Linked DNA regions of Homo sapiens: regions 2 and 3 are each linked to region 1. Evidence: promoter capture Hi-C in 16 types of primary human blood cells and fetal thymus (Javierre and others, 2016). All regions are on one chromosome and are shown on one strand. Each heading gives the region's core, a stretch centred on a gene start or on the middle of the fragment in contact. The rest is flanking DNA. Distances are from core to core; before and after follow the strand shown. Region 1 holds the start of PNMA3 (PNMA family member 3). Region 2 holds the start of MAGEA1 (MAGE family member A1). Region 3 has its middle 16 kb from the start of MAGEA1.

Evidence for each region. Contacts are between HindIII fragments. The CHiCAGO score rates a contact against its expected background, and 5 or more counts as called.
Region 2: the fragment with the promoter of MAGEA1 here is called in contact with the fragment with the promoter of PNMA3 in region 1 in 16 of 17 cell types (M1 macrophages, M0 macrophages, non-activated CD4 T cells and 13 more); the score reaches 16.2 in M1 macrophages.
Region 3: a fragment that was not itself captured here is called in contact with the fragment with the promoter of PNMA3 in region 1 in 8 of 17 cell types (M2 macrophages, non-activated CD4 T cells, naive B cells and 5 more); the score reaches 9.6 in M2 macrophages.

Annotation. Positions count from the first base shown.
Region 1 is chrX:153,054,348-153,057,719 of GRCh38, forward strand. PNMA3 (PNMA family member 3) reads left to right here and starts at 2,123. Exons shown (of 2, transcript NM_013364.6): 1 at 2,123-2,291; 2 at 2,603-3,372. The coding sequence starts at 2,709. The HindIII fragment of the contact is 3,087 bases long and covers 550-3,372 here.
Region 2 is chrX:153,177,508-153,180,879 of GRCh38, forward strand. MAGEA1 (MAGE family member A1) reads left to right here and starts at 1,777. Exons shown (of 3, transcript NM_004988.5): 1 at 1,777-1,858. The HindIII fragment of the contact is 9,739 bases long and covers 1-3,372 here.
Region 3 is chrX:153,161,345-153,164,716 of GRCh38, forward strand. No RefSeq gene overlaps it. Among named protein-coding and RNA genes, the nearest start is that of MAGEA1, 16 kb to the right of the region's middle. The HindIII fragment of the contact is 2,933 bases long and covers 60-2,992 here.

The DNA of each region.
Region 1 (3,372 bases), core at 873-3,372:
AAATATTGCAGAATGTATTTTATAAAGTATTTAATTACCAGAAACTCTTTAAAAAATTCCCAGGCCTGTTTCAGACTCAGCAGATCAGATTGCAGAGGTGGGGCCCATGAATCTGCCCCTTTTGTGACCCCGATAGTCACTACTGGTCTAAGCCAGGGCAAGGCCACCCCGGTGGAGGTTGCTTCCTTCATGCTGTATTATGTTTTTCACTTTACAAGTAATAATGTTTATCCATCAGTTCCCCAACTTTGGTGCTGCTGTGTTATCTACCATGCAAGGAGATGGGGAAGCAAAAGTAATTAAGACATTTCCACTGGTTTCAAGGGCAAAGGTTAACTCCAATATAAAGGAGTTCTAAAACTTTTCAAATTGGACATATTCACATCTATTGTCTTGATACCAGTGTTTCCAAATCCTTTTTTCCCAATGCCCAGAACATCCACAGATCACTGCGTCTGTCTGGGAACTTCACAGGCTTCTTTCCGGAGACATTCCAGACACGCCCCTCTGCCTTGGCATGAATACTTGGCATCTCCCCTTGACATCTCAAGCTTTGTCATTTACTCACTGTGTGACCTTGGGCCAGTAGTGTCCCTTCTCTGAACCTCTGTTTCCACCCCTGCAAGTTGGGCAGATGAAGGTTCAGTTTGAAGCTGGTTGAGCCCTTGGAGTGACAAAGCAAGGGACTGTGAATGGACAAAAATGAGAGAAATAAATTCTAATAGGCATGAAGCAACCAGGGGAGAAATAGTCCCAATTCTACCCAAAGACTGATGGGCACTAATTTAGAATCCAGTCTCAATTCTACCTTCAATACGGTGTGTGACCTTGAAAATGTCTCTTAATCTCTCTGAGCCTCATGAGTCAAATCAGGATAATGTTAATACCTGCTTCAGAGTTCTGGTGAGGAGCAAATGAAATAACTCCTGTAAAGATGTTTCAGGAATTCTGTCTGACCAGGAAAAAGCCCTTGGGGCCATTTCTTCTTGGTCCCTGACAAGTGCCAGGCTGACGAGCAGAACTCAGGGTGGGGCAGGAAGTCAGTGGACAGTTTTGTGCCCCACTCACTGCAAGGTGGCCTCCCAGACTTGGCTGGATGGGTGAACCTGGCCTGAAAATCAACCACAAGCCCCTTTTCGTTGTGTTTGGAGAGGAGCTGAAGCTGTGTGAATAGGAGTTGAGCATGCGGCTGGCAGAGCAGGCAGGACCCACAGAACACCTGGGCCCACTGCCTGAGGGACAGTCACTCCCTTCTTCATTTGGCTGCTGCCCTGGGATCAAACGGATACAATAGAACCCACGGCGCACGGCTGCCAAGGAAGGGCAGGCCCAAGGGATTGGGCTCCAAGTCCTGGAAGTGGTTTCCCAAGTCACTAGATTTGCAGCGCACAAAACCGGAAAGGTCCCGGTAAACCTGTCCACTGGCACCTGGGCAGCGAAGCGCTTTGGCCGGAGGGCCTCAGGTCCCAGCAGCGGGATGGACAGCGGGGAGATGGCTGACCCTCCTTGGGGTGGTGTGCGTGACCTGCATGAGTGCCTGGGGCATCTCCTGCACGGAATGGCACCCGCACCAGGTGCCCCTGGCCTCGCCAGCCAGAGGACCAGTCCTGGACGGGGAGGGGGAGGACAAGAGCAGGTGAACAGGCCCCAGAACCCGGCTCCCTGACCCTGGCCATAATGCAGAGCTGCCTGGCGCACCTCAGACCACTCCCTGGCCCTCTGGTGGGCACGCCGGGGTGCAGACCCCTCGCCCCGCTGGCACCTCCGTGGCACGTGCGGGAGGGGCAGGAGCCGGGACCAGGAACCGCTGTGGTGAGAGCCAAAGGCACGGGGACTGGCCGCCACAGACCTTTGGCCACCGCAGTGGGGATGGGGGTGGGCGGGCGCTTGTGTGCCCGGGGGCCCGGGGGCCCCCGTGGCGGGGGGGCTAGGGGAGAGGAGCAGGTGACGTCACCCGGGGACCTGGGGCCCCCAGGGGCGGCGGCGAGAGCCCGACCTCGTGACCCGTCCGCGCCAATGGCCCTGCGGTCTCCCGGACGACGCGGAGGGGTCCGCGCTGCACCGCCGCCGCGCCCCCGCCCCGTGTCCGCACTGCAGAGAGCCGCGGCGAGCAGGCGCCGGCGCACTGGCCCACGTGCTGCGCGAGCGAGGGAGAGCCACAGTCTGAGCGAACGTCCGCGCTGGGAGCCAGGGGTGCCCGACCCCCGTCCGCCGCCGCCGCCGCCGCCGCGCATAGCCCCCGGAGAGCCCTCTGGGGACCCCGACCAGAAGGGACCTTGCCCTGGGAGAAGGTAACAGACCCACCTGGGGAGGGAGACGCTGGGCCCCGGGAGACTCCGCCGCCCCTCGCCTGTCCGCCCTATCAGAACTGAAGCAGCCTGCAGGGCAGGGGTCCAGGGTCCTGGGGCAGCGCGGGGAGGGGGCTGAGGCCCGCAGAGACCCCACGGGGGGTGGGGGTGGGGGGCTGGGCAGGGGCGGGGCCTGGCTGCAGAGGCGCCGCCCGGGGAGGAGGGCGGCTGGGGGTGGGGGTGGGGGTGGGCGTGGATGTGGGCGTGCGGAGAGGTGGGCATTAACCTCGCTCTCGCCCTGCTCGCATTCACAGGCTGTGGAGACCTGGGCCTTCTGCGATCACCCTAGGAGTTGATCCAGATATGTGCCTCACGCCCTGATCACTCCCCCCAAATTAGTATCCGCAGAGATTCGAGGACATGCCGTTGACCTTGTTACAGGACTGGTGTCGGGGGGAACACCTGAACACCCGGAGGTGCATGCTCATCCTGGGGATCCCCGAGGACTGTGGCGAGGATGAGTTTGAGGAGACACTCCAGGAGGCTTGCAGGCACCTGGGCAGATACAGGGTGATTGGCAGGATGTTTAGGAGGGAGGAGAACGCCCAGGCGATTCTACTGGAGCTGGCACAAGATATCGACTATGCTTTGCTCCCAAGGGAAATACCAGGAAAGGGGGGGCCCTGGGAAGTGATTGTAAAACCCCGTAACTCAGATGGGGAATTTCTCAACAGACTGAACCGCTTCTTAGAGGAGGAGAGGCGGACCGTGTCAGATATGAACCGAGTCCTCGGGTCGGACACCAATTGTTCGGCTCCAAGAGTGACTATATCACCAGAGTTCTGGACCTGGGCCCAGACTCTGGGGGCAGCAGTGCAGCCTCTGCTAGAACAAATGTTGTACCGAGAACTAAGAGTGTTTTCTGGGAACACCATATCCATCCCAGGTGCACTGGCCTTTGATGCCTGGCTTGAGCACACCACTGAGATGCTACAGATGTGGCAGGTGCCCGAGGGGGAAAAGAGGCGGAGGCTGATGGAATGCTTACGGGGCCCTGCTCTCCAGGTGGTCAGTGGGCTCCGGG
Region 2 (3,372 bases), core at 527-3,026, 120 kb after region 1:
AAAAAAAATTATTTCAACAGAACGTAAAGAATGGAAAAGAAGTAGAATAGGATATAAGAGTGAATCATGCATACTACTGGTAGGTATTCTTTCCTAGAAATAAATACATATATATATACAGCTACCTACATATATCCTTGGAAGATACGAAAAGTGTATTTCTTTTTCATTTTTTAAATTTTTTGAGACAGAGTGTCACTCTGTCGCGAGGCCCACGCTAGAGTTCAATGGCACGATCTCGCCTCACTGCAAACTCCGCCTCCAGGTGCAAGCGATTCTCACGCCTCAGCCTCCTGAGCACTACCACACCCAGCTAATTTTTGTATTTTGTGTAGAGACGGGGTTTCACCATGTTGGCCAGGCTGGTCTTGAACCCCTGACCTCAAGTGATCTGCCCGCCTCGGCCTCTCAAACTGTTGGGATTACAGGCGTGAACCACCGTGCCTGGGAGTAAAACATATTACTTTGAGGACAAAAGGTTTGCCAAGTGTAGCTCTGGCTGGAGAGAAGCCCCCGTGGGAAGGTGTGCGTCTTCTCCCAGAGGTCACTACAATCGCGGGAGCTGCCACTCTGCAGGGAGCACCTGGCCTGGGACCTGCAGCCATTCTCTGCAATGGGTGCAGCTGGGCAAATGCTCAGAGATGGCAGAAACAGCATCTCCCGCCCATGACTTCAACAAAGTGCCAGGAGCCGGGAGGAGGACCTTCCTGAGTGGGGACAGAGGGTCCACTCTCCCGACGTAGATGGGCCACAGAATGCAGCTCAGCCCCTCCTGTCAGCCCTGGAAGACCCTGGCAATGTTACCACGACCACACCCCCCCTCCCATTGCCACCTCATGGGACTGGGGGCCAGAGACTTGGTGGGAGAGAAGCAGACACAATCGGCAGAGAATATGGGTGTCCAGATTCTGCCAGGCATGAAAGTCAGGACCCTGAGGGGTGACCGAGGGTCCCCCAACCCCACGCCCAACCCCACTACCACCAACACGACGACTTAAGCCCCGGGGCACCACTGGCATCCCTCCCCCTACCACCCCCAATCCCTCCCTTTACGCCACCCATCCAAACATCTTCACGCTCACCCCCAGCCCAAGCCAGGCAGAATCCGGTTCCACCCCTGCTCTCAACCCAGGGAAGCCCAGGTGCCCAGATGTGACGCCACTGACTTGAGCATTAGTGGTTAGAGAGAAGCGAGGTTTTCGGTCTGAGGGGCGGCTTGAGATCGGTGGAGGGAAGCGGGCCCAGGCTCTGTAAGGAGGCAAGGTGACATGCTGAGGGAGGACTGAGGACCCACTTACCCCAGATAGAGGACCCCAAATAATCCCTTCATGCCAGTCCTGGACCATCTGGTGGTGGACTTCTCAGGCTGGGCCACCCCCAGCCCCCTTGCTGCTTAAACCACTGGGGACTCTGAAGTCAGAGCTCGTGTGATCAGGGAAGGGCTGCTTAGGAGAGGGCAGCGTCCAGGCTCTGCCAGACATCATGCTCAGGATTCTCAAGGAGGGCTGAGGGTCCCTAAGACCCCACTCCCGTGACCCAACCCCCACTCCAATGCTCACTCCCGTGACCCAACCCCCTCTTCATTGTCATTCCAACCCCCACCCCACATCCCCCACCCCATCCCTCAACCCTGATGCCCATCCGCCCAGCCATTCCACCCTCACCCCCACCCCCACCCCCACGCCCACTCCCACCCCCACCCAGGCAGGATCCGGTTCCCGCCAGGAAACATCCGGGTGCCCGGATGTGACGCCACTGACTTGCGCATTGTGGGGCAGAGAGAAGCGAGGTTTCCATTCTGAGGGACGGCGTAGAGTTCGGCCGAAGGAACCTGACCCAGGCTCTGTGAGGAGGCAAGGTGAGAGGCTGAGGGAGGACTGAGGACCCCGCCACTCCAAATAGAGAGCCCCAAATATTCCAGCGCCGCCCTTGCTGCCAGCCCTGGCCCACCCGCGGGAAGACGTCTCAGCCTGGGCTGCCCCCAGACCCCTGCTCCAAAAGCCTTGAGAGACACCAGGTTCTTCTCCCCAAGCTCTGGAATCAGAGGTTGCTGTGACCAGGGCAGGACTGGTTAGGAGAGGGCAGGGCACAGGCTCTGCCAGGCATCAAGATCAGCACCCAAGAGGGAGGGCTGTGGGCCCCCAAGACTGCACTCCAATCCCCACTCCCACCCCATTCGCATTCCCATTCCCCACCCAACCCCCATCTCCTCAGCTACACCTCCACCCCCATCCCTACTCCTACTCCGTCACCTGACCACCACCCTCCAGCCCCAGCACCAGCCCCAACCCTTCTGCCACCTCACCCTCACTGCCCCCAACCCCACCCTCATCTCTCTCATGTGCCCCACTCCCATCGCCTCCCCCATTCTGGCAGAATCCGGTTTGCCCCTGCTCTCAACCCAGGGAAGCCCTGGATGGCCCGATGTGAAACCACTGACTTGAACCTCACAGATCTGAGAGAAGCCAGGTTCATTTAATGGTTCTGAGGGGCGGCTTGAGATCCACTGAGGGGAGTGGTTTTAGGCTCTGTGAGGAGGCAAGGTGAGATGCTGAGGGAGGACTGAGGAGGCACACACCCCAGGTAGATGGCCCCAAAATGATCCAGTACCACCCCTGCTGCCAGCCCTGGACCACCCGGCCAGGACAGATGTCTCAGCTGGACCACCCCCCGTCCCGTCCCACTGCCACTTAACCCACAGGGCAATCTGTAGTCATAGCTTATGTGACCGGGGCAGGGTTGGTCAGGAGAGGGCAGGGCCCAGGCATCAAGGTCCAGGCATCCGCCCGGCATTAGGGTCAGGACCCTGGGAGGGAACTGAGGGTTCCCCACCCACACCTGTCTCCTCATCTCCACCGCCACCCCACTCACATTCCCATACCTACCCCCTACCCCCAACCTCATCTTGTCAGAATCCCTGCTGTCAACCCACGGAAGCCACGGGAATGGCGGCCAGGCACTCGGATCTTGACGTCCCCATCCAGGGCTGATGGAGGGAAGGGGCTTGAACAGGGCCTCAGGGGAGCAGAGGGAGGGCCCTACTGCGAGATGAGGGAGGCCTCAGAGGACCCAGCACCCTAGGACACCGCACCCCTGTCTGAGACTGAGGCTGCCACTTCTGGCCTCAAGAATCAGAATGATGGGGACTCAGATTAGCATGGGGGTGGGACCCAGGCCTGCAAGGCTTACGCGGAGGAAGAGGAGGGAGGACTCAGGGGACCTTGGAATCCAGATCAGTGTGGACCTCGGCCCTGAGAGGTCCAGGGCACGGTGGCCACATATGGCCCATATTTCCTGCATCTTTGAGGTGACAGGACAGAGCTGTGGTCTGAGAAGTGGGGCCTCAGGTCAACAGAGGGAGGAGTTCCAGGA
Region 3 (3,372 bases), core at 276-2,775, 110 kb after region 1:
GGCAAGGGGGTTTTTTCTTTAGGGACACAGGAAGATTTGCCTAAAAAGGTCAGAAAGCTTTGACATCCATTATTTTATTATAAAGGTCCTCTACAGCTTTGGTGGTATAATATTTCGGGCCTTTACTTTTCTCATTCCACTCTTTATTTTAAGCCTGAGCTTGTGGGTCCTTGGAGAAGGAGAGAAAATATTTAAACTCTGATCAACTAATTTAACTATGTATATAACATGTAGAATAAATAAAGACTTAAATGAAAGCATAGCATTTACGAAAGCTCCAACAAATTAAAAGGTAATTTAAACGATTGATTTCTGGTTTTAGTGACTTGTTGTTAACAAATTAAAGCAGTTTGTGAAAATAAACTCAGTTACATTTTTTGCTTGTATAAGTTCAAAATCGTAATTCCTTTCCAAAGCTGAACATGCCTGAAATGGGTCTGCCAATCATCACAATAAAACAGGAAGCCCGAATGCAAGAGCTAGTTAAGATGGGTTCCCAAGCAAATAGTAGTTGAAGCTCCAACGGCCGTAAAATGATGAAAGAAACATGGTTTAAGAGCCATGGATAATTTTTTTGAATGCCAAAAGAGTTATCATAGACTGATTTGACATAGAGATTTTAATGGAAATGTCATGGCATCAAAATAAGGTGCCAGTAAGCAAATCAGTTCTTGAATGTAATTTTGAAACACACTGTGCAAAATTGCTCAGTGCAATGATGTACACTGATCCAAAAAGTGACCACTGACAAGACATGGTTTATTTCGGTTTTTAATCTATTATGGAAAAAACGAATTTCTCTTTGGAAAGAGCTATACGACCATGTCCAACGTGATTTCCTAAAAAGACAGCAGGATGTTTTCCTTCTGACCAGCTTCCCACCCATAAATGCAAATATTATTGTTCAGGGTTGATGGAGCATTTGCAAATCAAGAGGCTTTGATTTACATCCAGCATGCTCATTCTTCGATGGTAGATCCATATAAGAACTACAAAAGACATAGAAGATACTAGAATACATTGTTGGAGTTCAGGATGTGGGACAATGCCCTGTGTCTGTTGTACAGTGTCCCAGATTTTTCAGGATTTCATAGGAGGCAGCTACAACGTACACATGCAAAGCCCTGAAATGCCTTCCTTAGCTAATGAAGTGGAGCCCTGACGTCACCTAGGAAAGGGATGCAACAGAACTCATTTATAGTTTCTCAAATGATGCTCCCATTTCTTCAAAGCCACCATTAATCTTAACACCTTTAAAGCTATAATAACAATCTATGTAACAAGTGGAAAATGCTTATAGAATCAGTGCTTTCCATCACAAACCCTTATTGTATGGAAATTCACATTTCCATAATCACATAAAGGTAAAAAATGTTATTCATTATGAAGCTAAAAGGTATGAATTTCTCTGTCATAATACTTACTGAAAACTGGAAACTGAATTGTGAAAATTTTGTACTTTATTCTTCTTAAAATGATAGTTTCCTTTCTCTGTTTGCCTGTGAAGCACGCTTCAACAATAACACCTTACCTTCCAATACAAATGATGGTACACAAAACACACACAGGCACACACACACACACACACACACACATATATATATACACACATATATACATATATATGCATAGTAGAAAAGACCTATGTGTTTCTAATGTATGGAAATGGGAAATGTACATCCAGTCTTCTCAGTTGCAAAAATAAAGCAGTTTTTAAGTAGATAGTTTTGGCTTTACTTTGAATAGATTTGTATCAACTTTGAATTTTTTTCTTAATTATATTAGATTGTAGGGAGGGGACTCTGTAAGGAAGGATGATGCAAAGGATTCTTCCACCAGTTTATATGAACCAAAAGGTTTTGTGACAGTGAAACATAAGTAGTGTATTAGAGTTCTCTAGAGGGACAGAACTAGTAAGATAAATGTGTGTGTGTGTGTGTGTGTGTGTGTATACATTTCATATATCTATAGATTTCATAGATATATGTATATATATGAATGTATAGATATTTTATATATATATATATATATATGAGAAAGGGAATTTATTAAGGATAATTGACTCACAGGATGACAACATAAAGTCCCACCATAAGCTGTCTGCAAGTTGAGGAGCAAGGAAGCCAGTAGTGGATCAGTCCAAGTCCCAAAACCTCAAAACCTCAAAAGTAGGGAAGCCAACAGTGCAGCCTTCAGTCTGTGGTGGAAGGCCCGAGAGCCCCAGGAAAACCACTAGCATAAGACCAAGAGTCCAAAAGCCAAAGCAGTTGGAGTCTAATGTTGGAGAGCAGGAAGCATCCAGCATGGGGAAAGATGAAGGCCAGAAGACGCAGCAAGTCTGCTCATTCCACCTTCTTCTGCCTGCTTTTGTCTAGCTGTGTTGGCAGGCAAGGGGATGGTGCCCACCCAGATTAAGGGTTGGTCTGCCTCTCACAGTCCACTGGCTCAAATGTTAATCTCCTCTAGCAACACCCTCGCAGACACATCTAGAAACCACACTTTGCATCCTTCAATCCAATCAAGTTGACACTTAATATTATCCATCACAAGTAGGTAGAATCCAGTTCTTGGTACTTGATTTAAGCACCATCAAGATCCCATAAAGGCGGAAACCTTACAAGAAGCCAAGTCATCCTGTTAAGGGGAAATTTGTCTCCAGTGCTCAATCCTGACCTAATCCTCATCCTCCATGTCTGGTTAACTGAGGACTTGTCCATCTGACCCCAACCCCGCAACACCCACCTTCCTCCCTTCCCACACACCACGTCTTCCCTCCTTCCTCTCTTCCCACCATCCGAGAAGGAGCAGACCCACACATCATTTTACAACAAGTTCATTTTATTTTCATCACCATGGGGCATACCCTGTGGGATCTAAAATGTACTCTAGACCCCATTGACTATTTATCTGGGGCCAGATCTCTGGAGACTTCTCAAATAGATCTGAGGTCTCTGGCCTTGCCCTGAAATTAATGGCTGCCCAGGGAGAAGCTTCAGGTGGTGGAGGTCTCCTGGCTCTTTTGGTGTTGCTGTGGCTCATTTTGATTGAGTTTCTCATTCAGCTGGTCACAGTGTCTGGATTGCATTGGCCCTCTCTCATGCTCAGCTTTTCTTGAAGTGGTGATCATTCTGGAGAAGCTTTTTCCCTGGAACTCCCTCGAAGTCTTCCTTTTCCCTTTCAGATTGTCTTGGGACCCAGAAGGACAGCAGAGAGATCACAGAAAGGCACTGGTTTTGGGGAAGGGGATAGAGGATGAGTGGGACCAGGGGTTTCATGTGAAGGTTACAGGCTGGGTTGGGCGGTTGTGCCAGGCAAGGACAGGGTAGGAGTCTTGGGAGGGAGGAGTCAAGGGGAAGACAAGGAGGAGCTTGG